Linked DNA regions of Homo sapiens: all the other regions are linked to region 6. Evidence: promoter capture Hi-C in human tissues and cell types (Jung and others, 2019). All regions are on one chromosome and are shown on one strand. Each heading gives the region's core, a stretch centred on a gene start or on the middle of the fragment in contact. The rest is flanking DNA. Distances are from core to core; before and after follow the strand shown. Region 1 holds the start of PTGES2 (prostaglandin E synthase 2). Region 2 holds the start of NAIF1 (nuclear apoptosis inducing factor 1). Region 3 has its middle 2.1 kb from the start of DNM1. Region 4 overlaps KYAT1-SPOUT1 (KYAT1-SPOUT1 readthrough). Region 5 overlaps KYAT1-SPOUT1 (KYAT1-SPOUT1 readthrough). Region 6 holds the start of SPTAN1 (spectrin alpha, non-erythrocytic 1). Region 7 overlaps DNM1 (dynamin 1).

Region 1 (3,746 bases), core at 1,247-3,746, 420 kb before region 6:
CTGGGGCTCACCGAGCTTTCTCCTTCCTGGGCCACCAGGATGGGCACCTTTCTGTAGGAGGAGAACTTGATCTCAGCCCTGCGCACAGGGTTCACCTCCACCACCTGGTAGGGCAGGGCATGGAAGTCGAGGAAGGCTCGGACCTTGCTGCAGAAGGGACACGTCTTGTACTGGTACAGGGTCAGCTGCAGGCGGCTGGACAGGGAGAGCTGCGGGCAGCAGACGGAAAAGGCTTCTAGACCTGGCACCCCCAGGCCCAGGCCCTGCCCCCAAGGGTGTTTTCCAGAGGAGTCTTCTGAAATGACGCTAGAACATCGGGAAGAGGAACTAGAGATGGAAGGGGGCGGTAGGGGAAAGGGAGGCACTGGACAGCAGCCCAGGTTTAAGCCCCTGGCCAGCACGGTCCCCAAGCAGGAGTCCCACCCTTTGCTGCGAGGTTGTGTAGGAGGAATCTTCTAGTCTCTGTCCCATACTGGACAGACCCCTCTTTTCTCACTCCAGTCCCAAGGGGACACCAGACAGCCCCAGGGTATACACCCCACTCCCACAGACATGGAACAACTGTTTCAACTTGACTTGTTCACTCTCACTCCTCTAACCCCAGGGACCTCTGGGGGCAGAGCTGGGCTACCACCCAGGCTCATGTTCACCAGTGGGGTCTACCTCCAATCTCTTTCTTGTTTTTTTCTCTGGAGACAGGGTCTCACTCTGCCATCCAAGCTGGAGTGCAGTAGCTTGATCACAGCTCACTGCAGCCTTGAACTCCGGGGTTCATGTGATCCTCCAGCCAAAGTCTATCTCAAATATCCGAGGGGGAGGGTGGTATCTGAGCCAAGGCCTGCGTGTGGCAAGCTCCGCAGGAAAGCCCCCAGGGGAGCCTGCTGCACGTTCATGCCGGGAAGCCACAACTGTAGACCATCCCCCTGTGTTCAGAGGGGAAGCTGGACCGTGGAGGCAGGAAGGGAGACACAGAGTACTCCATGCCCTTTTTACCCACCTCTGTTCCCTCTGGTCCAGCAAATAAGCATCTGTGGGCGGGTGGTGGGAAGTCAAGTAATGAAGAGTTGCAAGGTGTGGGGTAGGTATAAAGTGTCTCAAGGCAGCTGGGCCACCACTTAGGGGGTCACCACTTGGGGGGGGCACCTTTCTACCTCTTCCTGTTTCAGCCTGGAGTCTAAGTCATCAGTTCCATAAAGGTACCACCACTACTACTAAATAAATACACAGCCTTAGGATTTGGGGGCAGTGGGGAGAGAGGATGATGAACGTTTGGAAAGTGAAAAAGGCTTTCCCTTTCCTGTGATCTCCCATCTCTTAATCAAAAAAGTCTTAAAACACGGTAGAGGCTGGGCTCCGTGGCTCACACCTGTAATCCCAGCACTTTGGGAGGCCGAGGCGGGTGGCTCATTTGAGGTCAGGAGTTCGAGACCAGCTTGGCCAACATGGTGAGACCCCCGTCTCTAGTAAAAATACAAAAATTAGCCGGGCTGGGTGGCAGGCGCCTGTAATCCCAGCTACTGGGGAGGCTGAGGCAGGAGAATTGCTTGAACCCAGGAGGCGGAGGTTGCAGTGAACCGAGATCGCGCCACTGCACTCCAGCCTGGGCAACAGAGCAAAAAAAAACTCCGTCTCAAAAAAAAAAAGTCTCCTTAAAACATGGTAAAGGCTGGGCGCAGTGGCTCACGCCTGTGATCCCAGCACTTTCAGAGGCCAAGGTGGGCGGATCACTTGAGGCCAGGAGTTCGAGACCAGCCTGGGCGACATGGTGAAACCCTATCTCTACAAAAAATACAAAAATTAGCAGGGCGCAGTGGGGTGAGCCTATAGTCCCAGCTACTCGGGAGGCTGAGGCAGGAGGATCCCTTCAACCTGGGAGGCAGAGGCTGCAGTGAGCCGCGATCGCACTCCAGCCTGGGCGATAATGCGAGACCCTGTCTCGAAAACATAAATAAACAAACCAAAAAAAAAAAAAAAAAAAAAACCACGGTAGAAGAACGATTTTATGAGAACTCGAACAATTCCAGGTAGTAGGCATCAGGAGTGCCCCTATTTTACACAAAAGAATACAGAGGGTTCGGAGACTTCAGACCAAGTCACTCGCCCAAGGTCACAAGCAGGCAGAGGCAACTCCTGACCCTGCGGGTTCCCAGGAGTCCCGAGTTCGGCGCTGATCAGCATCCCCATCCCCGGCCGGGCCAGGCCTTACCTGCGCGGCTGAGCGCTCTGCGTGGAGGTCCTGGGCGCGCAGGTGCCACCGCGCCGTGTGGTACAGCCCCAGGGCTCCCCCCAGGGCCAGCGCCGCAGCTCCCAGCAGCCGCGGGCTCCCCTTACGAGCTGCAGCCACGGGGCTCGGGCCGCCCGCCGCCCCCGCGAAGCCAGCCCGGCTCTGCGTGGGTAGCAGCGGCTGGGGGCGGCCTCCCAGCCTCCAGGCCAAGGCGCACCCACCAGGCCACAGCGCCCGCACCACCCGCGCAGCCGGGTCCATGTTCGCTCCGCCGGCGCCGCGGGCGGGCGCGCGAAACGAAGACGCCGAGGCACGCGCGGCGTTTAAAGGGCCAGGACTCTGGCGCCCCGCGGGTTGGCCGGGGTGAGGGCGACGCTAAGGGAACCCTCAGCGCTCTCGGGACTGGGCGTGTGCCCGGCGCCCAAGTTCGAAACGCCCGCCAGAGCCGCAGAGGCCCGCTCGGGAACGTTTGCAGACCGTTCCATGCTTCCGCCTCCAAAGGCTCTTGGGTAGTGACCCGGCCGACTGCAGGGGGGCGAACGTCTCCTCGCCCCACCTTGACCGCCTAAAGGGCGGCGTGGCCGTCTGTAACACGTACTTGCCCACCTCTCTTACGGGCGCCCATTCAAAACAACTCCAGCCCTTCCTAGAGTCAGTACAGGCGCCGCGACTTCCGGCCACTGAAAGCCCCGGAAACGACCCGACCCGGCACCAGGTGTTGCGGTTCTCTCTGCCCTCCCGCCTCATTGTCCGCTTCCTACTGTGACCCGAACCATAAAATTTTCCCGAACCCGAAGGGGCCTTGGAAACCACGTGTCTCTGATTTCGCCCACGCGAAGCGGCCGGCCCGCCGACCCCGAGATTTCCAGGGAGAGGATGGCAAAGTGGGGTGCCAGGCTGCTCGGTCCTTCTGCTGGGCTCCCCCGCCCTAGCTGAAGCCCGGAGCCTCCACCGCATAGGCGTCTCCGCGGACAGCCCCGGGATGGCCCCGCCCGGCGCCCGAGAGGGGGCGGGACTCGCAGAGTGGGCGGGGAGAGGGGCGGGGCGAGGGGGGAGCTCTGAGTCCCGGCTCTGCTGCTCCGCCGCGTCCCACTCTTCTCGCTCCGCTTTCGCCCCGCATCTTCCACCTTCCTTCCAGTCCTTGCGGCGACCGAGCCCGCAGTGTCAGTCCCCAGCGGGGACCTGAGTATGCCGGTGAAGACGAGAGCGGAAGGCGAGGACGACGGCTTCGGGGAAGCGGGTGACCCGAGGAGACTGCTGGAGCGACCTTGGCGTTTCCGGGGGTGCCTTCCCGGGAAGGGGAATCGGGATGTTGGCTTCGAAGGGACCGAAGGGCCCACCTCGACCCGCCCCGAGTGGGTTTGGAGTTGTAGGTGCTGTCTCGGATGCAGGGCGAGCACCCGCGAGCGGGTAACCAGTCCCGTGAGAGCTGCAGGTCCCCAGCCCCGTTTTACAGATAGGGAAACTGAGGCAGCTGCTGGGACACTCGCCCATATGGGTTTTGCTCCACCCACTTCCTTCA
Region 2 (3,546 bases), core at 336-2,835, 490 kb before region 6:
GGTAACAGGGCACAAACTCTTCTTTGAACTAAAAAATCCAACCAAAGTTAGTTCTGTTGTCATTCCTGAGAACCACGGAAAGGATCCTGGCTGGGCTGTATGGGCCTCCGCGCATGTGGGAGAGGTCAAGCTCCTCCACCCTTCAACGCCAATGTCAGCTATGTGTCCTTATGCCACCAAGAAGCCCCCTTCCTCTTCCGGGGCCTGAGGTTTTCCCAACTGATGGCGAAGCTATTCCTATATGTGTCATCTCTGTCCTACTAGAACATAACTGGCCTGTATTTTAGACAACTTGGTAATCCCAGTGCCCAGCACAGGGTTTGGTACAGAATAAGTGCTAATGTTTGATGAATGAATGAATGAATGAATGGAGTAGATTAACACCAGGAACCATGAGGCTCCTGAGCAGCACCTGATGAAAGATCCCCCACACTGAAAACAGAATCCAGAATCGTTGTCTCACTTGGGCAGTATTATTCCCATCAATTTTTTCAACAAATATGGCCTGGCTGTCTACTACAAGCCGGGCCCTGTGAAAAGTCCTGTGGGGATACAGACACGGTCTCTTGTTTTCAAGGACCACCCAGTTCGGCAAGTGGAGGTAAGTCATGGACAAACATGGTGGCAATGCTCAGTGGCGAGCTATCCAGCACGTCAGAAGTCCAGCCCACGTGCTGAGGAAGTCCCAAAGAGAGCAAGATCACTTCTGTCTGGGTGCTGCTCTTGGAAGGCCTCATGGTCTTCCAAGACCCCCATCTGACCTCTGACCCTTGGCAGCCAACCTTCCCCAGGCCACCCCAGAGCTTGCTGGCCCTTCCCACTTATGCACGCCGCCTGGGCAGGAGAGGTCACTCACTCTGTGTCAGGGTGACCGTGGCTGCGGCTGCGGTGGCCGAGGGTCCGAGGGCCACAGGGTGGATCTCTGTGGTGCTGGGCAGGCTGATGATGGTGGCCTCGCCCAGCAGGTTGCAGATACGTTGTTGCATGGGGGTCAGCAGCACTGGGGCTACAGCTGGGCCACCGCCACCACTGCCACCGCCTGTCCCAGGCCCCCCAGCTCCGTCCTCCTCAGTGGGCCCCGGCGCCTCACCACCCTCCACGGCGGCCCGGACCTGGGCAACCTTGCGACGGACCTCGGTCTTGAGGTCAGACCACTTCTTCTTGACCTCAGGCAGCTCTCTGCGGCAGGTGGCCACGGCGTTGACCCTTCTCAGGATGCCGTGCCAGGCCGCACTCTTGGCGGCCAGGGGTACCCCGGCGTTGAAGTGGTTCACCAGCAGGTGCTTCTTCAGCTCCAGCTCCTCCACGATGATCTCCACCTCCCGCTCTGAGAAGTTCATCTTCCTTTTCTTGGCTGGGACGGCCATGGCCTCTCCCCTCCCCTCTTTTTAAAGAAATTATAATCCCCTCAAGCGCCCCAATTCCCCTTCTCTTCTTCCTCAGCCTCGCCCCTCACCCACCCCCTACAGGGGATAGGCCAGGCTTGCTCGAGGCCAAGCACTAGGCCTTTGGTAACCCCCCTCGCTACGCAAAGTGCGTAGGGCCCAGCCCCGACCGGCCCGGCCGCTGCCAGCCAGCAGCGTAATGGCTTCCTGAATCTGCCTCTTCCGCCGAGGTGTGCGGAGATCCGCCCACTTCCCCTCTTCCCGCCTCCCAGCGCTTCTCCGGGAAAACCGGCCTTCCCGGTTGGTAGCTGCTCAAATATCACGTCGATCACTGGTTCTTTCGATCTGTCGCTCAGCTAAAGAGCACGCCTGCTTACTGTAATTCGCCTGATCATTGGTCTAAAATTGTGTCCGTCGCCCAGAGGGCCCCGCCCACCTAACCTTTATTCACTTCCATTGGAAAATCATTCTGTCGTTCAATTGTCAGTATTACGACTATTAAGCCGTTAAATTCAGCTATTTTATTGGTGGTTTAGGGAGTTAGATTACCAAAACCCTGCTTCCTGAGGATACTTAGTGCTTTCGGCCGTGACCCATGGGTCAATTAACTTTTAATTCCTCCCACCGGCACAAACTCTGCCTCGCAACTGCAGTTCACAAATGCTCTCACACAAATCCTGTTTCCCACTGGAGGCTACGATCTCTCCGTACACTACCGCTCCTCCCATCCTTAAGATCCCGCAGTCTAAACAGAGTTAGTTCATCAATGGAAACTGGACACGGGGCCTTCCGCCTGCCAATCACATTACTCATGCCTATCGCTGCGTGATTTTCTCTCTCTTGGCCCCCGGCTCAGCCAATCCCCGCCTCCCTCAGTTTGAATCGGCCCCAGGCGGAGCCGGGTGACCCCGCCCACCCCATTGATCCGGGTAGTCCGTGGCGCGTGGGCTGTCCTTAGACAGGCTCCGCCCCTCCCTCCTCCCCATCCGAGCCTGTGACTGGCCTTCGGTGCGCCCGGGCGTGGCCGGCGAAGCGGGGCGCGGAGGGGCGGGGCTCCCGGAAGCCGCCCCTTCCGCCAGCTTGCCGGCGTCTCCGAGCCCGCGCTCCCAGCTGCAGAGCGCCTGGCTTGCCTCCCGCGCGGTCACCGCCGGCCCGCCGCCCCCGCTCCCGCCCGCGCCCGGAGCCCCTGCCTCGCGCCCGATGGTGAGCAGTGTGTTGTGCCGCTGTGTGGCCTCCCCGCCGCCGGACGCCGCCGCCACCGCCGCCTCTTCGTCTGCCTCATCGCCGGCGTCCGTGGGGGACCCCTGCGGCGGCGCTATCTGCGGGGGCCCGGACCACCGGCTGCGCCTGTGGAGACTCTTTCAGACGCTCGACGTCAACCGGGACGGCGGCCTGTGTGTCAACGACCTGGCGGTGGGGCTGCGGCGCCTGGGACTGCACCGCACCGAGGGCGAGCTCCAGGTAGGCTGCGCGCGTCCTCAGCACTGGCGGGGAGGGAGCCCCTCGAGGGCCGGGTGACAGGTCTCGGGGGACGGCCCCTTGGGCTGGGCGGAACCCCCACTGTCCAGAGGAAGGGTGCCCCCTGACTCACTGAGGGACACCCCACTTATGCCCTGGTGGGAGCGGGGCTCCTTCCTGACTTCTTTGGGTGCTTGAGCCGGGTTCTTCGTGGACACAGGTGGGCATCCTATGGGCTTTCTGATGGGCGAAAAGCCCTTTCTTGCCCAGAGTAGAAGGCCAGGTCTCAGGAGTGTGCCTTTGTCACCTCCTGACCTCAAGGCCAAGCTGGACGCTCCCTTCACCCAAGGATGGGTTCATCCATCAGTCCCCAGCAGCACCCCCTCCTTTCCCTCTCGTTTCCATGCCAGCCGTGGGCCCTGATCTGGTTCCTCTCAGGAACATGTGGGAGTTGAAAAAAAAATTGGTATTGGGGTTTCAGGCTGATCCGTGTGGACGTTGGCGGCGAAGACTGACAGTTCTCATGGTTTAGGCTCATCTCCATTGCCCTGTTTATCCAGAAAATGGGATCGTGATCCCCGCGGGGTTGGAGTGTGGACGGAGTGAAAGAATCCGGGGGAAATTTTTTTTCTAAAAGTCAAAGCGAGATTGTTACTATTGTGGGCTCTTGGCCGAGGTGTGGGCATAGGGGCGCAGAGAAATG
Region 3 (3,615 bases), core at 297-2,796, 350 kb before region 6:
ACAAAGCAAGATCCCGTCTGTACAAAAAAAAATTGTTTTAATTAACTGGGCATGGTGGTGTGCACTTGTAGTTTCAGCTATTTGGGTGGCTGAGGCAGGAAGCCTACTTGAGCCCAGGAGTTTGAGGCTACAGGGAGCTGCGATTGTGCTACTGCACTCCAGTCTGGGCAGCTGAGCAAGGTTTATCTTATCTCTAAAAACAAACAAAAAAACAAAAACAAAAAAGCTTTGGGAGCTCAAGAGAGAGTAAAGAAGCCATTTCTTTCTTTCTTTTTTTTTTTTTTTTTGAGATGGAGTCTTGCTCTGTCACCCAGGCTGGAGTGCATGGTGTGATCTCGGCTCGATGCAACCACCACCCCTGCCTCCCAGGTTCAAGCAATTCTCCCACCTCAGCCTCTCGAGTACCTGGGATTACAGGTGCGGGCTACCATGCCCAGCTAATTTTTGTATATTTAGTAGAGATGGTGTTTCGCCATGTTGGACAGGCTGGTCTCCAACTCCTGGCCTCAAGTGATCCACCCGCCTTGGCCTCCTAAAGTGCTGGGATTACAGGTGTGGGCCACTGCACCTGGCCCTGAGATTCTTCTTTTCAACCAACTCCATGTGATGCCAGGCTGCTGGCCTGGCATCAGTGATACAGCAGTATAGGATACTTAGTATAATCCCATTTCTGTAAAAACAAAATGGAACAAAATGAATATGTGCATATATGAAAAACAAAGCCAGAGAACGATCCCTAAGCTATAGTGGTTATCTCTAGGTGGGAGGATGACCAGAGGTTTTCAAATACTTGTGTAAAGTCTGGTTTTACAATAAGTTTCAATATTGTAATTAGGGGGGAAAAAGTAAAAATAATAAAAGCTGGCTGGGCATGGTGGCTCACAGCTATAATCCCAGCATTTTGGGAGGCTGAGGCGGACAGATCATGAGGTCAGGAGTTTGAGACCAGCCTGGCCAAGATGATGAAACCCCGTCTCTACTAAAAATACAAAAATTAGCTGGGCACAGTGGCGAGCACCTGTAATCCCAGCTACTCAGGAGGCTGAGGCAGGAGAATTCCTTGAACCAGGGAGGGAGAGGTTGCAGTGAGCTGAGATCACACCACTGCACTCTAACCTGAGCGACAGAGCAAGACTCTGTCTCAAAAAAAAAAAAAGAAAGAAATACAAAAAATTAGCTGGGCGTGGTGGTGCATGCCTGTAGTCCCAGCTACTTTGGAGGCTGAGGCAGGAGAATCACCTGAACTTGGGAGGCGGAGGTTGCAGTGAGCTGAGATCACGACACTGCACTCCAGCCTGGGAGACAGAGCGAGACTACGTCTCAAATAAATAAATAAATAGGCTGGGCACAGTGGCTCATTCCCGTAATCCCAACACTTTGGGAGGCTGAGGCAGGAGGATCACAAGGTCAAGAGATCGAGACCATCCCGGCCGACATGGTGAAACCCTATCTCTACTAAAAATACAAAAATTGGCCGGGCGCAGTGGTTCACACCTGTAATCCCAGCACTTTGGGAGGCAGAGGCAGGCAGATCACAAGGTCAGGAGATGGAAACCATCCTGGCTAACACGGTGAAACCCTATCTCTACTAAAAATACAAAACATTAGCCGGGCGTGGTGGCACGAGCCTGTAGTCCCAGCTACTTGGGAGGCTGAGGCAGGAGAATTGCTTGAACCCAGGAGGTGGAGGTTGCAGTGAGCCAAGATCGCACCACTGCACTCTAGCCTGGGTAACAGAGCGAGATTCCGTCTCAAAAAACAAACAAACAAACAAAAAATACAAAAATTAGCTAGGAGTGGTGGCACGTGCCTGTAGTCCCAGCTACTCGGGAGGCTGAGGCAGGAGAATCGCTTGAACCCAGGAGGCAGAGGTTGCAGTGAGCTGAGATCATGCCACTGCACTCCAGCCTGGCGACAGAGTGAGACTCCGTCTCAAAAATAAATAAAATAAATAAGTAAATAAATAATATTAAAAGCCCAGCCATGATGCCCTCTAGGCAAACATCTATAAACTGCACCCCCTCCTGGTGCCAGTCATCCAGGCTTCCATCTCTGCCTTCTCTTGTCCTCAGAGCATAATAACAGGTTGGCATGGAACAGCTGCCAGGTTCCATGCAAGTTGTGTGGCACTGATGCTCCAGCTGTCTGGTGAGCTGTTATCATTGGCATCCTCACAGCTGCAGCTTAATAAGGGCCCCCTGAGCACTAGGCCTGGGCTGTGCCCTACACAGGCATTTGATCTATTATTATCCCCATTATCCAGATTAGTTAACTGAGGTTCAGAGACGTGGAGGGACCTGGGTCACGCAGCTTGTTTAAGGCCCAGATTAGACTCCTAATCCACTCTCTGGTGCTACCAGGGAGAGGGCCTGCTTGTTCCCCATGCCTGCCTCGAAGATTCCTCCCCACAAGGGTCACTCTCTGATCACCATCTTCACAATAGCAACACCACCCTACCCCGCCCCTGCTTTCTTGCTCTGCAGGGCACGCCATCTAACAGGGCCATCGTTATTGCCCTATTTGCATATTGTCTGTCTTTTTCCACTGAATTGTCAGCCACATGTGGGTAAGGACTTTGTCCGTTTTGCTCACTGCTTTATCTCTGGAGTCTAGCATAGTACCTGGCTCAACAAATACGCATTAAATGGATGAGTAAGTGAACAGTCTCCAATTCACAGACCACTTTGTCAGCAGTGCCCCCACACTGTTCACAGCGCAGGGAAATGACTCACCGACTCCCCATGAGCACAGTGTAGGCTAGCCTTCCCTTCCTAGCCTCCACCGTGAATACTAATTAGGTTTCTTAAATGCAGAGATGGACGGCTGGGCTCAGGGCCCCATGGTCTGTCTGTGTGAAAGGGTACGCAGGGTAGGATTGTAGGAGCCCTGGATTTGAATCCCACTGTTTTACGCTGTTTTACCACCATCCTGATGGGTTGGAGCAAAGACTTCCACTCTCTAGGACAAGAGCTTCCAACTCTCCCAAGAAGGGCCCTCCAGGTGTCAGGGCCTCTGCACTTGCTGGTCATTCAGCCTGGCATGCTCTTCCCCTGATCTGCTTGCTGCTGGCTCCTTCTCATCATTTTGGTCTCTTCTCAAATGTCACTTCTGCAGAGAACACCCCCGACTCCTGCCAAGCCAATGTGAACTTTCCACACCCACAAAGATACCTTTTTTCACCCTGTTTATTTCCTCCATCCCTCTTACTATGAATTATTTTCATTTTTACTATTTCATTTATCTGCTTACTTATTTACTGTCTGTCTCCCCAGCTTGATGCAAGATCTATGAGGGCAGAGGCCTTGGCTGTCTTATTCGTTGCTGAATCTTCAGTGCCTAGGACAGGGCCTGGCTTCTAGCAGGTACCTAGTAAATATTTGTTGAATTCATGTTCCAACTTTCTCCTTCTAGAAACAAGGAAACTGAGGACCAAAGGCAGAAGAGGACATGTTGGAGATCAGAGTCAGGATCTAGGGATAGAAGCCAGCGAGATGAAGGGGAACTCATCTCGGAGTTCTGACCTCTGAGGTCAGGAGGCTGTGACCTCAGAGGAAGCCCATCTGCTCTCCAGGCCTGTTTCCTCATCGGTAAGATGGAGTGAAACATCCAGACCAC
Region 4 (3,355 bases), core at 854-3,353, 300 kb after region 6:
ATCAATGAGAAAACAGAAGGTGGAAAACAGAGGCTGGAGGGTGCAGGAGGGGGAGTGATGTGTTTAAGGCCACACAACACACACACTCAGACTTAGGCCTGTTGGACCCAAGGCCATGTCCTAACTCTGAGGGAGGCACTAATCCGCTCCTCGGAGGGTCCCGGGGTCCTGGCTCCTGGCTCGCCCCTCCCCTCCCGGTGTTCCTCCCAGGCCAGCTCCCTCCTCAGCCACTGGTGTGCAGAAACTGGCCAGGGGCTGGGCACAGTGGCTCACGCCTGTAATCCCAGCACTTTGGGAGGCTGAGGCGGGCAGATCACCTGAGGTCAGGAGTTCGAGACCAGCCTGGCCAACATGGTGAAACCCCCATCTCTACTAAAAATACAAAAATTAGCTGGGCGTGGTAGCACGCACCTGTTATCCCAGCTACTTGGGAGGCTGAGGCACAAGAATCACTTGAACCTGGGAGGCAGACATTGCAGTGAGGCAAGAGCACACCACTGCACTCCAGCCTGAGCATTAGAGTGAAACTCAGTCTGGGAAAAACAAACAAAGAAACTTATCTGGGCGTCATGACACATGCCTGTAATCCCAGCTACTCAGGAGGCTGAGGCCTGAGAATCACTTGAACCTGGGAGATGGAGATTGCAGTGGGCCAAGATCGTGCCAGCCACTGCACTCCTGCCCGACCCAACGAGCAAGACTCTACCAAAAAAAAAAAAAAAAAAAAAAAAAGAAAGAAAGAAATTGGCCAGACCTGAGAGCCACCAAACTCAGGTCCTAACCCACCTTGGCTGGGTGACCCTGGATAGGTAATTTGGCTCCTCCTGTCCTCAGAATCCCTTCAGCAGCAGGGACCTCACATGGGCTTTGTGGTCCCTGAGGAACCTTCCGTTCCTGTGGGTTTGCCAGTCCCAGATGGCTGGTGGGCCGTGGAGCTGGGGATCCAACATTCTTCTCAGCCACCTGCTGTGGTCAATAGTGAACCCTGGCTCAGGATTTTGCTCAGTTCCACCTCGCTCAGTTCCCACTGCACTCTCACTAGAGGTGCCACAATAGTCTCCATCTAACAGATGAGGACACTGAGGCTTGAAGAGGCTCAGGTACCTGCCCAGGGTCAGAAGAGAAGCTGGCAAGGACCTGGTCAGGGTGGCAGCCACAGTAATCTCAACACCAGGCCCCCCTGTCCTGGAGGGGCCTTGGGACCATTTGAGTAAGTGCCAGGTCTTCCATGGCCCAGGAACCCCACCGCGCCTGGCTCAGTTGACATTTATTGAGTCCCTACCAGGTACTGGGTTCTGGGATGGGCACAGGGGATCATGGGAAGCAGCACCCTACAGCGCCCAAGCTGACTATTCAGATGCAGAGCTACAAGTTCTAGACTAGAGAAGCAGGGGCAAGGGAGAAGCCCACATACAGGCTGCAGTTAAAGAGGGCTCCCTGAAAGAGAAGGCTCATGCACAGCTTTGAAGCCAGGAACGAGCCAGACCCCAGAAGCCCCAGGCCATGCAGGTGGCAGAGTATTGGGGTTAGGGCACTTACAGTCTGGTGCAAGAACCAAGTGAGTGGGGCTCCAGCCTTCCTTCCCTGAAGGGGCCCCACCAGGTGCACAGAGATGGCTGCTGCAGTCCTGAACATGCCTCCCAGAGCCTTGGGGCACTGCAGACTTTTCCAGAGGCAGGGGAGAAGGGAGGAAACAGCCCTGGCCAGAAAATGCCTCCGAGCTCAGGACTTGGGTCCCCCACACACAGCTCTAACAATAACAACAACAACAACAACAACAACAACAACAATATGGTCATTGCGTGCCAGGAATAGCACCAAGTGCTCTGTTGCATGATTATCCGACTCCGTCCTTATAAGAACCCTGTTACTCATATACAATACACCCCCCAGCAACCCAAGTGACCCTTTCAAAACACAAATCACCTCTAATTAAAAAATGATCCAGGAGAGGATCACTGATAGCCCTGAATATCACCAAGAGCATAAACCAAACATGTTCTGACTCTGGAAACACATACACCACCTGCAAATTATTCCTGCTGTAAAAGTGGCCCTAAATTAGATCACACTGTTGAATGACTAAAATACAGGGACAGAAGAACATGTTAAATAACACCATGGAGATGCAATCAACAAATTCAAGCAGGGCAATGTGTCTCACACCTGTAAACTCAGCACTTTGGGAGGCCAAAGCAGGAGGATCTCTTGAGCCCAGGAGTTTGAGACCAGCCTGGGCAACATACTGAAACACCGTCTCTACAAAAATACAAAAATTGACCAGGTGTGATGGTGCACACCTGTAGTCCCAGCTACTGGGGAAGCTAAAGTGGGAGAATCACTTGATCCTGGAGAGGTCAAGGCTACAGTGAGCCATGATCCCACCACTGCACTCCAGCCTGGGCGACAGAGGGAGATATGTCTCAAAAAAAAAAAAAAAAAAAAAAGTAAATGCCTGAAAAAGAAGAAAAAAATTGAAGAAATCACACTGCACAATTTGGAAGCTTAATGCAAACATACAGGAACCAAGAAAGTGTGATACTGCTTAAAGATAGATATATAAGTCAATTGAATAGAACTGACAGTCCAGAAATAAATGGTCACAATTGCTATTTGATAAGATGCTAAGAAACTCAAATGGGGGCCAGGCATGGTGGCTCACGCCTGTAATCCCAGCACTGTGGGAGGCTGAGGCGAGTGGATCACTTCAGGTCAGAAGTTTGTGACCAGCCTGGCCAACATGCTAAAACCTCGTCTCTACTAAAAATACAAAAATTAGCCAGGCATGGTGGTGTGCACCTGTAATCCCAGTTACTGGGAGGCTGAGGCAGAAGAATCACTTGAACTTAGGAGGTGGAGGATGCAGTGAGCCGAGATCACGCCACTCACTGCACTCCAGCCTGGGTGACAGAGTGAGACTCTGTCTCAAAAAAAAAAAAAAAAAAAAAATTGGGAGGCTGGGTGTGGCTCATGCCTGTAACACGAACACTTTGGGAGGCCAAGGCGGGAGGATCATTTGAGGTCAGGAGTTTGAGACCAGCGAAACCCCATCTCTAATAAAAATACAAAAAATTAGCTGGGTGTGGTGGCACATGACTGTAGTCCCAGCTACTTGTGAGGCTGAGGCAGGAGAACTGCTTGAACCTGGGAGGCAAAGGTTGCAGTGAGCCAAGATCGTGCCACTGTACTCCAGCCTAAGCGACAAAATGAGACTGTCTCAAAAAAAAAGGTGGGGAGGCCAGGCATGGTGGCTCATGCCTGTAATTCCAGCAATTTGGGAGGCTGAGGTGGACGGATCACCTGAGGTCAGGAGTTCGATACCAGCCTGGTCAACATGGTGAAACCCCATTTCTAC
Region 5 (3,507 bases), core at 756-3,255, 310 kb after region 6:
GACATGAGGCAAGCCATTTTACCTCTCTGAACATCAATTTTCTATGCATGAAATAAATAATAATAATTCATGGAGGCTGGGCATGGTGGCTCACACCTGTAATCCCAGCATTTTGGGAGGCTGAGGTGGGCAGATCGCTTGAGCTCAGAAGTTCAAGACTAGCCTGGGCAACATAACAACACCCTTTCTCTACAAAAAAAAAAACCAAAACAACAAAAGGATCCAAATACAAGAGCTTGCACCTGAGCATGTGCACACATCTCTGTGTCTGTGTCTGTGAGCTTATGGGTGTGGTGAAGGTAGGTTCCAGGAACTTAGGAGGGAGGGAGGGAGGGAGAAGCCATAAGGGGTTCTCAGCCAAGAGCAGAAGGGTACAGGGGGCACGTAGGCTGCCTTAACCCAGCAACTTGGCCAGGTTGGTTGGGAGCAACTTGGGGGCTTGTGGGTGTGTTATTCCCGAGTCGGCCAGCAGGGGGCGCAAGGAGCCAGGCCCCTCGTGGCTTTGAGGTTGCTGGCCCAGGTCACAGAGCAACCTGCTGGCCCCAGGAGGGGACTACGCCTCACTTCACAGAGGAGGCCCAAAGCAGGGAGGGTGCTGCTCCAGGTTCCCGCATAAGGCAGGACTCCTGACCTCCCAGGCACACCTCCCTCCAATGCCCTGCGCCTCACCCCTTTTCTAGGAAGCAGGCCTTCCCTAGTCAGCTCCTCAACAGCCCTGGCAGTCACCTTTTATTTACCACACGCTTTCCTGTGCTAGGTGCCCCGTGGAGCCCTACACGTCCCACCACTTAAAAATGTTTTTCAGGCCGGGCGCGGTGGCTCACACCTGTAATCCCAGCACTTTGGGAGGCCGAGGCAGGTGGATCACAATGTCAGGAGATCGAGACTGTCCTGGCTAACACAGTGAAACCCCGTCTCTACTAAAAATACGAAAAAAAAATTAGCCAGGCATGGTGGCGGGTGCCTATAGTCCCAGCTGCTTGGAAGGCTGAGGCAGGAGAATGTTGTGAACCCGGGAGGCGAAGATTGTAGTGAGCCGAGATTGCGCCATTGCACTCCAGCCTGGGCGACAGAGCGAGACTCTGTCTCAAAAAAAAAAAAAAAAAAAAAGTTTTTCATTTAAAAAATTTTGGTAAAATACACATATCATAAACTTTACCATCTTAACTATGTACAGGTATACAGTTTTGGGAACTGTTTTCATCTTGTAAAACTGACAACTCTGTACCCATTAAACAATTACATCCCTTTACCCTCTGGCCCATAGCCCAGCCCATTTGCTGTCTCTGCGATTTTGACTACTTGAAATCAGGTCCCATCACTTTTATTATTTATTTACTTATTTTTTGGGGGACAAAGTCGTGCTCTGTCGCCCAGGCTGAAGTGCAGCAGCGCGATCTCAGCTCTCTGCAACCTCCGCCTCCCATGTTCAAGTGATTCTTGTGCCTCAGCCTCCCGAGTAGCTGGGACTACAGTTGTGCACCACCATGTCCAGCTAATCTTTGTATTTTTAGTAGAGACAGGGTTTCACCATGTTGACCAGGCTGGTCTAGAACTCCTGACCTCAAGTGATCCGCCTGCCTAGGCCTCCCAAAGTGCTGGGATTAGAGGTGTGAGTCACTGCTCCTGGCTTCCCATCACTTTTAATCCTATAAGAAAGATTCCTTCAAGAGGCTAAGTGGTCAGGTACAGTGGCTTATGCCTGCAAGAGAGGCCAAGGCAGGAGGATCCCTTGAGCCCAGGAGTTCGAGACCAGCCTGGGCAACGTAGTGAGACTCAATCTCTACAAAAAATAATAAATTATCTGGGAGTGGTGGTGCACGTCTGTAGTCCCAGCTACTCGGGAGGCTGAGGTGGGAGGATCACTTGAGCCTGGAGGTTGGGGCTGAAGTGAGCCATAATTGCACTACTGCACTGCAGCCTGAGTGACAAAGCAAGACCATGTCCCTCCCCACATCCCTCCCACACCAAAAAAAAAAAAAAAGGCTAAGTCACACACCCAAGGCCACAGCTAACAAGTAGCAGAGCCTACATATATATATATATATATATATATATATATATATATATATATATATATATATTTTTTTTTTTTTTTTTTTTGAGACAGAGTTTCGCTCTTGTTGCCCAGGCTGGAGTGCAATGGTGCGATCTTGGCTCACTGCAACCTCTGCCTCCCGGGTTCAAGCGATTCTCGTGCCTCAGCCTCCCAAGTAGCTGGGATTACAGGCATGCACCACCACACCAGGCTAATTTTGTATTTTTAGTAGAGGTGGGGTTTCACTACGTTGTCCAGGCTGGTCTCAAACTCCTGACGTCAGGTGATCCACCCACCTCGGCTTCCCAAAGTGCTGTGATTACAGGCGTGAGCCACCACACCCAGCACAGAGCCAATATTTGAACTCAGGACTCTGACTCCTACTTTCCAAAAGCCAAAGCAGCACAGATGCATGGATGCTCAATGGGAAATGAGAGAATTTGGTCCAGTGGCTCACATTTTATTGATGGGGATACTGATAACCAGGGATGGGGAACTGACCCACCCAGATTTCCCAGGACCAGGTTAGCGAAGTCCCAGTCCTGACATTTTTCTCATCCTAATAGGCTGGCTCTTCCAATGGGCGTTATGCACCTGGCACAGAGCAGCTGCTCAATAAACCTGCAGAATGAGAATGAATGTCTATCGCTTGCACCAGACTGTAAGCTTTGTTAGAACAAAGATTCTCTTCTGTTCATCTTTTTATTCTCAACATCTTGCACAGAGCCTGCCATATGGTAAGTGTACATCTCCTCAGTGAATTCCTATTATGTGCTATTCATTCCCTAAGCTAGCCACCATGTATACAAGGGTGATAGGATACCTTCCTTTCCTCCAAGGAGCGCACAATCTAATCAAGGAGACAAACAAGTAACTGGGCCATTTTAATATAATATGAGCCTTAATATGCAAATATTTGTATAAATCGACAACAAAAGACCAGCATCTCAATAAGAAAAAGTGTGAAAAAGATATAAATGGGAAATTCACAAAAGCAAATAGTCGCTGGGTGTGGTGGCTCACGCCTGTAATCCCAGCACTTTGGGAGGCTGAGGCAGGCGGATCACCTGAGGTCAGGAGTTTGAGACCAGCCTGGCCAACATGGTGAAACCCTGTCTCTACTAAAATACAAAAATTAGCCGGGTGTGGTGGCAGGCACCTGTAATCCCAGCTACTCGGGAAGCTGAGGTGAGATAATCACTTGAACCTGGGAAGTGGAGGTTGCAGTGAGCTGAGATCGTGCCATTGCACTCCAGCCTGGGCAACAGAGCGAGACTCTGTCTCAAAAAGAAAAGAAAAGAAAAGAAAATAGTCGCCGGGCGCAGTGGCTCATGCCTGTAATCCCAGCACTTTAGGAGGCTAAGGCGGGCAGATCACTTGAGGCCAGGTGTTCAAAACCAGCCTGGCCAACATGGTGAAACCCTGTCTCTACTAAAAATATAAAAAATATTAGCCGTGATGTGCGCCTG
Region 6 (3,829 bases), core at 769-3,268:
AGGTCTCCATTTTGCATCCAGCAAAAGCAGCAGAACCCCCAGTTCACTATGGGGCCAGGGTGATTTAATAGAAAAACCCTCCCTTTTGAACAGCTCCTGCCCCTCAGTCCCAAGGTGCTTTCTTTGCTGGAGCAGAAGGTCTTGGAAATTTTAGGGAGCTACAATTGTGTTAGCCATTTTGTACCCAGAGCTGAATATCTGATCAAACATTTTACTGCAACCTGCTGGAGAAGAGGCCACGGATACCATCAGCTGTTCTCAGAAATGCACACTCCAGGGAGGAGTTGCTCAGCGCTGTTTTCTCTACATAGAAGATTGCAGGAAATGCCTCTCAGCTCCTACGTTTCTCCTACACAGATTCTCTAAAGCAGCTTCTGGGGTGTGGTCACTGCTTTTCTCTCCACTCCAATGGAGTGAGTGGGTAGGGAAATTTTTCCTCAGTATCATGGCTACAGCCAGGACAGCTTAGAAACCGTATTGCAGGTCCCAGGCACGGGGAAAGAAGCCAAACTGCAGAGGGCCAGGAAGCTCAGGGCCAGGTCTGGGCCCAGATTCTGGTGCAGTGTCCAATGACTTTATATTTATTTAAAGAGGAGAGCTGCTTGGTAACCAGGAGGCTGAAGCCTTCCTAAGCTGCAGAGCTCCCCGTCTGCCTGACTGCACAGGAATGATCTGGGTGTTACTCCCAGTGGCTGCGGCCCAGCTGTCACCGGAATGGGGATAGGGAAAGGGCTTCCTAATCCAGGGCTTCTGGCTACAGAGTTTAGAGCCAGGACCTTAAACTGCTAGGACTTTAAGTATCAGAAATTCTGAGAATCTTATTTTTCTCTTTCTGCACCCCAGCAGCCACCCGCATCAAAATGCCTCCCTTTCCTATTTGAAGGCAATACACATACGGTTGCAAAGGGAAGGTTCTGACTGCTGAGATGTAAATCCTAGCTCTTCCAATTGGTAGCTGCCTGACCTGGGCCAAGAGACTTAGCCTACATGAGCATTATGTAAGAGTGCCCATTTGTAAAATGGGAAAACATCTCATAAAATTATTGCAAAGATTAAGAAATGAAAAGGTAACACGAAATACTTAGCATAGTGCCTAGTACACAAGGCAAGTTCGATTAATTGTGCCAGAAAGAACCTTAATGTCTTGTTTATGAAATAGGATGAATGTAGCCTATTCCACTGGCGACCTGTGAGAAAGCTTTTGTTGCAGGAATGTAAGAAATTATTATTTTGCCGCTGCCGTTTCCTCCCCCATAATCTCCAAGAACATAAGAAATTAACTCTCCAAATCCCAGAATGACAGCTTTATGCCCCAAATTAGTCGACTTAATTTTTTTTCTGATTCGGATTTGGCCTTTTCCTCTCACCACCTCCTCAAACCCGGGGCCCCAAATCATCCGCGTCTTCTTGACCCCAGCCCCCACCGAATTAGGCTGACTTGGGACCCCAGCGCCAGCCTCCTCCTCGGGAAAGTGAGCAGGAAGAGACGCACTCGGGTGATCTCACCCTTTGGGACTGGGCGTTTTTCCGGCCGGGGCGCGCAGCATCCCCAGCCAGACTGCAGCGATACCCCCGCCCCGCCCTTCTCCGCAGTCCTGGAAGAGCTCCCAGGGCGGAGTGGTGCGATGCAGACGACTGTCCGCAGGGCGGGCGGTGGCGGGGCGCAAGCTGCGGGGAGGGAGGTGAGGCGGGAGCGTCTCTACCGCCAGGGCGTAGGCAGTGACCTCACTGCACCATCACCCCTCACCCCTTGCGCGCGCCCCATTTCCCCATCCTCCCGCGGCCCGCCCCTCGCTCACCTCTTCCCCCGCATTGTCGCTTCGGCTCCTTCCGGGATCGCTCGGCCCTTTCCGCCGGGCGGTCGGGCGGCGAGCCGGCGGGAGCACCGCCCCCTTTGCTCCGCCGGCGCGCTCCCCCACCCCTCGCGCAGCGCCGGGGCGCTTCCCCCGGCGCTCGCGCCCGCCCGCCGCGGGAGCGCGCGTAGCCGCTTATAAAAGAGGCGGGGCGCGCGCGTCGCCGCCACTACCCGCTGCGGAGTGAACGGTGTGGAGCGGAGGCCGCGGAGGCTCCTCGGTCCTTCAGCACCCCTCGGCCCGACGCACCCACGCCCCTCACCCCCCGAGAGCCGGTGAGAGGGGCAGCCGGGGAGCTCCGGGAGGGAGCGGGGCCCCGGGCAGCCGACCCCCGGGTGGGAGCTGGGCAGCTCTTCAGGCGGGGCGGGGCCGGCGCGCGGACAGGTGAGCCGGGCGGGCCGCGGGGCTGCCTCCATTCGGCTGAGTGGGGGAAGCCGCTGCCGCTGCTTTTGTGGCGCGTGGGCTGCGGAGGAGCAGCCGGGCCGAGGCTCGGCGCCGCCGCTGGAATGTCACTGACGGGGGGAGGGGGCGCGAGGCCGCCGGGTCCCTCCCAACCACCCCCAAGCCTGGCTGCGGCGCGGCCCTGCCCTGCCCCATCCGGCTGCGGCAGGTGGGTGGGGGCTCCCTCGTCGGGATCTTCGCCAGCCGCCTCCCTGCAGAACGCTCCCCGCACCGCCCCCGGTCCCTTCCCTCGGCCGGGAGCGACTTCTGCAGCTCGTTCTTCCGAATCGCACCAGCAATGCCGGCCAGCCGTAGAGGGAGGAAGAGCCCGGGGAGCCCGAGCATAGCGTAAACGGCTCTCTGACCTTAATTTCATCCTGCATGGCGAATCTCTGCCGTCTCTCTGAACGCAGAAGGGTCTGAGACTGGCCGTCTCCTTTTCTTTCCTTGTAATAAACATTTTTCTTTCTTCCTAGTTGTGATTTGCTTGTAAATAATAGGTAAATGCAGTGCTTGCATGGTATGTGGCTCAAATCAAATAACTTAATAGCTTAGCGTTCTTGTTTGTGTGTGTGTTTCCTGGGACTGGGTCTTTCGAGTCGAGATACAGTGTCAAAAATTCTACCATACCACTGTTGAATGATAGAACAGTCTTTTGTTTGAAAGCTGTCCCTGAGAATTTGATTAGACGCTTCCCCTAGAACATCGCTTTCAAAAGTCTCTGATGTACTAGAGTAAAATATATTTTAAATAAGCGCCTTGTTAAAAGTTGAATATGTTTTAAATGAAAAGCCTAAATAGCTCAGAAAGCTGGGTTGAGATGATGCTTGAACTGTTCCAACATCTAATCAGATCTCTTTTATATAATAGATCCTAAAATATTTAAGCCCTTTGTTCTGTCTTCATCATGTTATTTTAGAAAAACTTACCATCATGGCTGTTCGGGAAGAACAGGAGAGAGGCCATATGAAGTATTTTCATAATGTGTTGAGAAATTGCGTCGTCATAGCAATTGGCCTTAAGTAAAACAGAATGTATCAAAGATGGAAGGGTGGGGGTGTCTTGGAGCCAGGAAACAGAAAATCTTGGAAATAGCAGGAGGAACACTCAGCTATATGAAGCCATTGAGTCAAGGTTCCGACTCCTTAACTAGTCGTTTATTTTCCCTTTCATTGCAGCTAACTAATGTCTTAGATTTTGAAAGGTCAAATTGAATGTGCTGCGGAGGAAAAAAAAAGTGCTGCAGTAAAGGCCTCTGTGCAGGAAATTAACAATAAGCCTTTTTTAGTAACTGGGCCAATAATTACTCAAAGGGACCCTCAAAGTGTGTTAACTGTTATCCAGGGACCTTGATGGAGAGACTGGAAAGGAGGATTTTTGCTTCATCCTGGACAAGTGTGAAGCAGTTCTTATGGCAAACCATCAGCCTAGTAACTGATTCTCTGATATGCTTTGGTCTTGGCAGTGTGTTTTGTAGTCATCTAATAATTGGAGAAATCTGGTATGTCACAGGCTGCAGTGTAAGCCTGTCAAGC
Region 7 (2,700 bases), core at 1-2,500, 330 kb before region 6:
GTCCTCTCGACCCCAACTTTCTGGCTCCCTGCATGACAGGCTCCAGCTTGGGGAGGTGGACCCGGGCCACCCCGCCTACTGCAACTTGCTGGGCCAACTGGGCACAGCCCAGGGCGCAGGTGGCCGGGGAAACACCCTCTGGGGCTGGGCCCATCCCCAGGGTGAGATAGCTCCCCCAGTGCCACCCAGGTAACCGGACAAAGATGTCCAAACCACTACGAGGGCCTGGGGTGGAGCATCTAAGTATGAGGCTGTGTCCTTTTATGACGGCCGGGGACTTTGCAATCCTCCACACCCTCCTGTATTCACAGTAGCCCAGAGTCAGTCCCATTCCACCCCACCGCCCTCCTTCTAGGCAACCCGTGGAGTAGGAAACAGGATTGGGAGGTGGAATCTGTTCCTTAAAAGCTTAGATCCCCTTCAGGGACCCAGATCTATGCTGTGTTCATCCAACAAATCCACTGGGCCGGAAAATTTAAAGCACCTACCCTATGCCAAGCAGTGAACAAGACCCAGTGTCCCCTTGCTCTCATGCAGGTTCATTTCCAAGATTTGGCATGGAATTTACTTCCTGATAACTGCACTGGCCAATTCACAGAAAAAAGATCTCTTTCCTAGTCTTAAAACAAAACACTCTATTCCTGGAAAGGCTCTTATGGAGAACCACGTTTGGCAATTTTCAAGCCATTTCTGGCCATAGAACTTCCTATATGCACAGACCCTTACGAGGAAGCAGGACTTACATATCAGATACTCAACCACCTTGTCTTGCCCCAAAGAGCCTCATTAGGGCCGGGCGCGGTGGCTCACGCCTGTAATCCCAGCACTTTGGAAGGCCGAGGCAGGCGGATCATGAGGTCAGGAGATCGAGACCATCCTGGCTAACACGGTGAAACCCTGTCTCTACTAAAAATACGAAAAAATTAGCCGGGCGTGGTGGCAGGCGCCTGTAGTCCCAGCTACTTGGGAGGCTGAGGCAGGAGAATGGCGTGAACCCGGGAGGCGGAGGTTGCAGTGAGCCAAGATTGCGCCACTGCACTCCAGCCTGGGCGACAGAGCAAGACTCCGTCTCAAAAAAAATAACAACAACAACAAAAAACCCTTCATTAGAACCCCTCCCTCCCATTTTACAACTGGGGACACTGAGGCCCAGAGAGGGGTAGTGGAAGGGCCCCTCAGGCAGAGTTCGTGGGCTTGGGGAGGAGCCTCGGCCTGGCCCTCCTGGCCGGCACTGGCCTGTGACACTCTGCCCTTCTCCCGCTCCGGGCGTTCAGAACGGGGCTGTTTACCCCAGACATGGCCTTTGAGACCATTGTGAAAAAGCAGGTGAAGAAGATCCGAGAACCGTGTCTCAAGTGTGTGGACATGGTTATCTCGGAGCTAATCAGCACCGTTAGACAGTGCACCAAGAAGGTAACCCGGAGGCCCGGGCCAGCCCCCACCGCCTCTGCCCCGCCCTGCACTGCTGCCAGGCGCTCCTTCCCCATGTCCCCCCCTGCCTCCTCGGTAGCATGTACAGACCTCAGCGGGGTGGGGAGGCAGGCCACCACTGAATAGGAGACAATGTGCCTCTGAGAGGGCCTCACCCACCCCTGGCCCCCAGGTCTGGGGACCCAGGGATTGGACATGGGTGAGACGGGGATGATGGCTGGCTGTTTACCCCAAGAGCCCACCAAGAGCTCCCCCAGCTCAGAGAATAGGGCTTGAGGGGACCCTGAGCCCCCTCCCTGTCCTCGGAGGTGTCATCTTTGGGAGCTCCAGGGAGGGGTCTGGGGAAACCTTAGCCTTGGAGACAGGTGAAATGCAGGGCCTTCTCGGGCACTGCTCGGTGGGCCTGGGTGGCCAGAGGGGGTGCAGAGGACCCAGGACTAGCAGGTGCCCTGGCTCCCCGCTGTCCTTCATCCTCCCCATACTCATCTCACCCTCACTCAGGACCCTCACACAGGATGCTCACGTAAGACCCTCACTCAGGGCCTCTCCCTCCCTTCCATCCACATCTGGCTTTCCAGGGATAGAGCCCTTCTCCCATCTGCCCCACCATCCAAGCCTCACAGAAGCACGCAGGGAGGCAGGACAGGGAGGACGGTGCCCATTTCACAGCACGAACACTGAAGCTCCAGGAGATCAAGTGGCTTGCCCAAGTCACAGTAGTCAGGAGGTGGCAGAGCTGTTACTTGAAGCCACGGCTCTGGACTCCAAGTCCAGTGCTCCTCGATTCCACCCTCCAGCCTCCCTTCCTTTCCTCTCCCCACTGCTGTCCCGGCCCCTCTCTATCACTACCTCTACTCTTTCTGTCTTTCCTCTTCTCTTTCTGTCTTTTGGTTCCACCAAACCCCTGTGGAGGAGAGGCCAGGAATGCCCCTTGAAGAGAAAGGGAGGGGCGGGACTAGAGCAGGGAGCTGGAGAGGGAGGTCAGGCTGCTATACTGCAACCCTAGGAGGCAGCCTCTGCGCCACGGTTTACGGGAATGGACCCCCCTGGAGTTGTGCAGTGCATGGCCTGGGCAGCTGGATGCGGCAACCCTAGAGATAGGGAATGGTACTGAGGTTTGGAGTCAGGATGAAGCAAATTCTGGGACACTGGGAAACGTAGAATTGAACAGGATGGGTGGATGAGGTCCTGGCCTTGTCCTGGCCTGGGTCAGCTCCTTAGGAGAACCCAAGGCTGTGGACAAAGACGGCACTGGGAGAGAGCAGGCAG

The links. The method cuts DNA at HindIII sites, captures the fragments that hold promoters and counts their contacts. A contact is called where the count stands out against the background at its distance.
Region 1: the fragment with the promoter of PTGES2 here is called in contact with the fragment with the promoter of SPTAN1 in region 6 in 1 of the 25 tissues and cell types used here (bladder).
Region 2: a contact is called between the fragment with the promoter of NAIF1 here and the fragment with the promoter of SPTAN1 in region 6, in 2 of the 25 tissues and cell types used here (aorta and hippocampus).
Region 3: a fragment that was not itself captured here is called in contact with the fragment with the promoter of SPTAN1 in region 6 in 1 of the 25 tissues and cell types used here (hippocampus).
Region 4: a fragment that was not itself captured here is called in contact with the fragment with the promoter of SPTAN1 in region 6 in 3 of the 25 tissues and cell types used here (aorta, hippocampus and lymphoblastoid cells).
Region 5: a contact is called between a fragment that was not itself captured here and the fragment with the promoter of SPTAN1 in region 6, in 1 of the 25 tissues and cell types used here (heart right ventricle).
Region 7: a contact is called between a fragment that was not itself captured here and the fragment with the promoter of SPTAN1 in region 6, in 1 of the 25 tissues and cell types used here (liver).

The regions. Positions count from the first base shown.
Region 1 is chr9:128,125,233-128,128,978 of GRCh38, forward strand. It overlaps PTGES2 (prostaglandin E synthase 2), which reads right to left and starts at 2,497. Exons shown (of 7, transcript NM_025072.7): 1 at 2,207-2,497; 2 at 12-209. The coding sequence starts at 2,485. It overlaps PTGES2-DT (PTGES2 divergent transcript), which reads left to right and starts at 3,297. Exons shown (of 1, transcript NR_024425.1): 1 at 3,297-3,746. RefSeq lists enhancers at 2,018-2,097, 2,738-2,857 and silencers at 2,238-2,527, 3,168-3,367, 3,398-3,507. The HindIII fragment of the contact is 32,314 bases long and covers 837-3,746 here.
Region 2 is chr9:128,065,735-128,069,280 of GRCh38, forward strand. NAIF1 (nuclear apoptosis inducing factor 1) reads right to left here and starts at 1,586. Exons shown (of 2, transcript NM_197956.4): 1 at 857-1,586. The coding sequence starts at 1,367. It overlaps SLC25A25 (solute carrier family 25 member 25), which reads left to right and starts at 2,498. Exons shown (of 11, transcript NM_001330988.2): 1 at 2,498-2,846. The coding sequence starts at 2,586. RefSeq lists enhancers at 1,445-1,774, 3,525-3,546 and a silencer at 2,225-2,794. The HindIII fragment of the contact is 18,346 bases long and covers 1-3,546 here.
Region 3 is chr9:128,199,515-128,203,129 of GRCh38, forward strand. It overlaps a transcript of CIZ1 not described here. Among named protein-coding and RNA genes, the nearest start is that of DNM1, 2.1 kb to the right of the region's middle. RefSeq lists an enhancer at 3,548-3,615. The HindIII fragment of the contact is 4,461 bases long and covers 1-3,615 here.
Region 4 is chr9:128,845,894-128,849,248 of GRCh38, forward strand. All of the region lies in intron 1 of KYAT1-SPOUT1 (KYAT1-SPOUT1 readthrough), which reads right to left. The region is part of intron 1 of KYAT1 (kynurenine aminotransferase 1); the gene reads right to left. Among named protein-coding and RNA genes, the nearest start is that of SPOUT1, 18 kb to the left of the region's middle. The HindIII fragment of the contact is 3,862 bases long and covers 173-3,355 here.
Region 5 is chr9:128,863,277-128,866,783 of GRCh38, forward strand. The region is part of intron 1 of KYAT1-SPOUT1 (KYAT1-SPOUT1 readthrough); the gene reads right to left. The region is part of intron 1 of KYAT1 (kynurenine aminotransferase 1); the gene reads right to left. Among named protein-coding and RNA genes, the nearest start is that of KYAT1, 17 kb to the right of the region's middle. RefSeq lists an enhancer at 314-608. The HindIII fragment of the contact is 3,497 bases long and covers 258-3,507 here.
Region 6 is chr9:128,550,569-128,554,397 of GRCh38, forward strand. SPTAN1 (spectrin alpha, non-erythrocytic 1) reads left to right here and starts at 2,019. Exons shown (of 57, transcript NM_001130438.3): 1 at 2,019-2,128. It overlaps LOC101929270 (a long non-coding RNA gene), which reads right to left and starts at 1,845. Exons shown (of 4, transcript NR_188457.1): 1 at 1,800-1,845. RefSeq lists a silencer at 1,663-2,432. The HindIII fragment of the contact is 8,229 bases long and covers 396-3,829 here.
Region 7 is chr9:128,222,977-128,225,676 of GRCh38, forward strand. DNM1 (dynamin 1) reads left to right here. Exons shown (of 22, transcript NM_004408.4): 10 at 1,275-1,413. Among named protein-coding and RNA genes, the nearest start is that of MIR199B, 21 kb to the right of the region's middle. The HindIII fragment of the contact is 4,555 bases long and covers 1-2,700 here.